2 separate regions of the Homo sapiens genome follow, and region 1 is linked to region 2. Evidence: promoter capture Hi-C in 16 types of primary human blood cells and fetal thymus (Javierre and others, 2016). All regions are on one chromosome and are shown on one strand. Each heading gives the region's core, a stretch centred on a gene start or on the middle of the fragment in contact. The rest is flanking DNA. Distances are from core to core; before and after follow the strand shown.

Region 1 (2,700 bases), core at 71-2,570, 73 kb after region 2:
AAGGATTTGCTGGAATGTTTGAGAATCATCCTAAAAAGTTAATTTATAGGAATTTATTTTTATTTTTTTTTTTGAGGCAGAGTCTTACTGTGTCACCCAGGGTGGAGTGCGGCGGTGTGATCTCGGCTCACTGCAAACTCCACCTCCCGAGTTCAAGCAATTCTCCTGCCTCGGCCTCCTGAGAAGCTGAGATTTGAGATTACAGGCATGTGCCACCACGCCCAGCTACTTTTGTTTTCTGTATTTTTAGTAGAGACGGGATTTCACCATGTTGGCCAGGCTGGTCTCGAACTCCTGACCTCAAATGAGCCGCCTGCCTTGGCCTCACAGGTGTAAGCCACCATGCCTCTCCAATTTCTATGAATTTTAGAACTAGAAATTTATGGGTGATCTGGTCTTGCTGAGACACTTCAGAGTGAAGCCCTTGAAAGGTGCATGTGACTATATCTGAGTAAGTGCTGGGATCAGAACCTAGATTCCCAGGGAACTGATGTTACTACAAAGCAAGCAGTTACTATAATTAATCTAGCAACTTTTCACTCATTTTCTATGTCATCTCTTAACTAATTGGAGTTATTCATAAAGAAAGGAAAACTTTCTGAAATCTTTAAGTAAAATGAGGGTCTACAGTTTGCTCTTCTTTCATTTTGACATGCTCTGCTCTCAGCTCTTGAACTGAGCCACTCCGCTTTATTTTAGTCAACAGAAAATATTGCTACTGACTTTGCCAAGTTGGTAATAACATAATTTAGTAGATTTTTAAAAATTAGTAATGAAATCATGGTGTGTTTGTCTAGAAAGCACACATGGGAACTATTCTGAGGCTCGTGTTGCAGTCACACCTGGTCACTCTATAGCACCGTTACCTGTACATACCATAGCATTGCACTGGGCTTGGTATTTACTCAATTTTCTCAGTTTTTTGAAAAAACAAAAACAAAAAAAACAAAGATGTCTTAGTCTGCTCAGGCTGCTATAACAAAATATCACAGACTGGTGGCTTAAACAACAGAAGTTTCTCACAGTTCTGAAGGCTTGGAAGTCCTCCTTGGCTTGCAGATGGCCGACTTCTCACGGTTCTTGCATGGCGGAGAGCATGCATGCTCACTCTCTGGGTGTCTCTTCTTGTAGGAACACTAATCATACCAGATCAGGGCCCAACCTTTTTGACTTCCTTCAACCTTGATGACCTCCTTATAGGCCCTATCTCAATACAGTCACACTGGTGACTAGGAATTCAACATATGAATTTTGGGGAGAACACAGTTCGGTCCATAGCAGTATTTTTCACATGGTAGGTTAAGATACAGTATTCTTTGGGTTGTGGAACTATTGAAAATTAACCTTTTGATTACCCTTGGTATCTTTTATGTTACTCCTTATTTCGTCAGAAAGTACGTACATCATTAATATATCATTTTTTTTTTTACAGTTTTTCCTCAGGCTAAGAGAGGTCAGTGTCTCCTTCCCCAACTTAGTGGCCCGTTAGTAAACACTGGCTCTGGCAGCTTATTTTGCAGCCTGAAGGCTAGGGGGAGGAGTATCGATGGTGGGGATCAGGAGTTCTTTGGTGGGTGAGGGTAAGGAGCTGGTGGCACCTACAGAAGGCCTATCTGCAGAAATAGTCCACTTTCAGGCCCTTACCTGGTATGATAGAAGGAGAGTATTCAGGGAGGGTATATATAAAACATATTTTAAGGCAAGGGGTAGTGTTATGGTAATTTTGATGATTTAATTTTTTGTAAATGTTACTAACTTCACAACACAAGGTAGAGTCATCTCTTTCCGTTGGCTAGATAATCAGTTATCTGGAAGATTTTCAGTTATACCCCAAGTCTCTGTTTCCCCAGAATATTCCACCTACTTGAATGACTCAATGTCTCAAGTCCCAACTGTTAGTTTCTTTTTTGAGTTGAATACTTAGAGTCCTGTTAAAGTAGAAAATACTTTTTAAGGTTGGGACAATATGAACACATCATCATTAATACCATGAACCAATTCTTTTTTTTCTTAAAGAGGCAGATCTCATTATGTTGCCCAGGCTGGACTCAAACTCCTGGCCTCAAGTGATCCTTCACCTCCCAAAGCACTGGGATTTACAGGCATGAGCCATGGTGTCCAGCCCCAATTTTTAACTACTGACTAGCCAGTCAGTTTTCTAGTAAGACTGTTGTAACAAGTCTATCACAGTAGGCGTCAAGGTTAGGAAGGGTGTCAAGGTTCAGGGCCAGAGTTGATTCCTTAGGGAAAACCTGGGTAGAAAAACAGTTGAGAGTGAGAGAGCCAGGGAAACTAGTCTTGAAATCACTGGTACCTAGGAAGAAGAGTCACCCATCGGAAAGATGATGATCAAAAGAAGATACAAAGTAACTTTGCTTGCAGCTGTTTCTACTCTGAAACAATTTGATGTACTCTTGGCTTTTAAAAACCAATTTACCAGTATGCTGTATTTTTCACTTTGTTTTTTTTCTTAGACGATTTGTAGATAAAAATATTTATGAAAATGGTTTAAAATAAGCTCTAAAATTTAAACACTTTACATTATTAACTTGAATAAAATTTAGGCCATACCAACATAGATCATGAAATAAAACAAAATTTAACTGCATTACTTAATATATATAACTAAAGTTTCATAATTCAGATTTTAAAATTGACTTAGAATATCAAAAATAGACACATTTAAATGTGTCAAGAGAT
Region 2 (2,700 bases), core at 40-2,539:
ACACAGTCTCGCTCTGTCGCCCAGGCTGGAGTGCAGTGGCAAGATCTCGGCTCACTGCAAGCTCCGTCTCCCAGGTTCACGCCATGCTCCTGCCTCAGCCTCCCAAGTAGCTGGGACTACAGGCGCCTGCCACCAAGCCCGGCTAATTTTTTATATTTTTAGTAGAGACGGGGTTTCACCGTGTTAGCCAGGATGGTCTTGATCTCCTGACCTCGTGATCCGCCCACCTGGGTCTCCCAAAGTGCTGGGATTACAGGCGTGAGCCACCGCGCCCGGCCGTAAATTTGTCATCTTAGTTCCTCTACAGAATCTATTAAAATGTTATGAAAAACCTCTGCAAGGAGAAACTTGGAGGCATTCTAAACCTGCAGCTTTCACGTTGATATACACATTGGAGAGAGGTGTCAATAGTCCAAATGAGACAAAGAATTGTAATAATTTTCAATAATTTTTGTTCTCTTCATTTACCTATCTACCCCAAAGTTTAACAATAAGTTATGTGTGTCATTCTCGTGGCCTTGATGTAACTTGAGGCACTTGTAACTTAAGTCATTTATTTTCAACTGAGGGGCCGTTTTGTTTCTTCAAATACACAATAACAGCCACAGGCACAATGTCCTCTTGAGAGGGTAAAAACCTTGGCCCTCCAAGTGTTTTGGTACAGTGATCCGGAATCAAAGACGCTGGGAACAGGGACGCTGGAATGCTTTCCCAAGCTAATCAGCAAGTTGGGAACTGTCTCATTTCCGTAACCGGACATTCAGGGTGTCCTAGTCACATGTGCCTGTTTTGGCGGGTGGAAAACCTGAGGGCGATCGGGAGGGTCCCCAGGGGCCCCATGAAGGTGCTTCCCTGAGATGTTCGGGCCCCCTGCGGAGCACCAGGGTCCACGCCAAGACGCTTCTGATCAACTGTAGCTTCTCGGTGACTACACTGCCAGGAATGGCTGCATGGACGGAGCCAGACCCAGGCCGGGGCGCGAGAGTTCCCCAGGCCCCGGGGGGCTCCAGGGGAGGTCCCTCCGGCCCGGGCCGGCCCCACTGTCCTCCGCGGCCTGCGGCCGACGCTCACCGGCAGCCGCGTCAGGGTGCTGGCCGCCTCATCCACCTCCTCCCGTGAGGTCGTACGCGCCACCCTCTCCTTGCTCACTGACTGCCAGAAGGTCTTCCAGCCGCTGAGGATGGCCGCCTCCAGGCGGCCCCAGTCGCTGAAGGGCGGCGGCGGCGAGTTTGTTCCGCTGCGCGGCTCGCTTCCCGCCATGGCTTGCCCGCAGCGTGGGTGACGCGTCTTAGAGCCACGCTAGCGCGTCAGCCTCCTGCGCAGCTCCGCGCCAGCCGAGGGCGCCCTCGGGCGTTCCGCCTCCCGCTTCTCCCGCGAGTCCGCCTCCAGGGCAGGGTTAGGCCCAGGGGCAAGGGCGGGTACTGGGAGGAAGCCCACTGTGCGTGGCTGTGAGCCGAGTACGAAGCTCCTGTCAACAATTAACTTCCCCAGTAACTTGTGGCCTCAACCTCAGCCACGCCAACCGCAGAGCCCCTGTACAACCTCTGGCCCGCTGACTTCCTGGCTTCATTCAAGATGTTCTCTCCGGGATCATTTCCACTATGCCTGGTCCTAGGCGACTCCGCTTGTTCGATAGACCTCTGCCACTGTCTTGGGCTTAATAACCACTTGCTTCCTTTTCAGCACTACCATACTACGTATGGGGTGTTTTTTGTGTGTGTTATTTCCTCAATCACCAAGTTACCATTTATTTTCTTGAGTATCAGCAAAAACAGACTAGAGAGGCAGTCAGCGGGCCAATTACAAAGAACCTTTTGCCAAAATGAGAAGTCTGGACCCACTATGCAAAAATATAAGCACATTTAAAATTTGCAAGGGCGGCAAAAAACGGCTAGAAGAACCCAGATGTGGTGGTGTTGAAATCCCACTAGTGAGTTTTTTAATTCTCAAACCAGATGCCCATTCTACTTACTTTGGGCTTACTTTAAAAGTGCTTTAAGAGAACGTATTACAAGTTAATCTGTTACATAGAACTGGGTATGTATACATTCAAAAAGTAAATCTCTGAGGATCTAAATGTCAACAGAATCCAAGAAAGCCTGATAACTAAGGTTCTGCAAGGCTCTGTAACATACAAGTTTAAGTTTCATTACATTTTATTATTTGCATGTTGTTGGTAGGGGCCAATAACCAATAAAATTGCAGCCTCGTTTTTGGGAGGCAATCTGGACAAGGACCACGGATTAACCATATGGCATTTCTCATCACTTTCTAGGACACGATTTACTTTGAGAGCAAAAAACGAACTAGAGCAAGAAAAAAAATCAGTTCAAGTATAAAGTATTAAAATGATATCTGTTAAATGAATGAGAAAAACTTTATTACGGAAAATTTTGAACATTTATAAAAGGAGAGTGAATAATATGCTCCTGTGTGCCCAGTATCCAAGATTCCATTACCAACACCTGGTTAATCTTGTGCTGTTGCTATACTCACCTAATACTACACCCCCAATTCTGGATCCTTTTGAAACAAATCCCAGACCTATCATCTGTAAATATCTCAGTATCCGTCCCTAAAAAAAACAGATTTTAAGAAACAGACCACTGTACCTAAGCAATTTTAATTCATTAAAATCACCAAATACCGAGTCAGTGTTTAACTTCCCCATCTGCTTTGAAAATAATTTTTCACATTTGA

What was found. Contacts are between HindIII fragments. The CHiCAGO score rates a contact against its expected background, and 5 or more counts as called.
Region 1: a fragment that was not itself captured here is called in contact with the fragment with the promoter of FBXO4 in region 2 in 2 of 17 cell types (naive CD4 T cells and activated CD4 T cells); the score reaches 6.3 in naive CD4 T cells.

What each region holds. Positions count from the first base shown.
Region 1 is chr5:41,850,444-41,853,143 of GRCh38, reverse strand. All of the region lies in intron 4 of OXCT1 (3-oxoacid CoA-transferase 1), which reads left to right. Among named protein-coding and RNA genes, the nearest start is that of OXCT1-AS1, 18 kb to the left of the region's middle. The HindIII fragment of the contact is 5,487 bases long and covers 1-2,700 here.
Region 2 is chr5:41,923,870-41,926,569 of GRCh38, reverse strand. It overlaps FBXO4 (F-box protein 4), which reads right to left and starts at 1,289. Exons shown (of 7, transcript NM_012176.3): 1 at 1,072-1,289. The coding sequence starts at 1,260. RefSeq lists a silencer at 852-1,031. The HindIII fragment of the contact is 6,278 bases long and covers 1-2,700 here.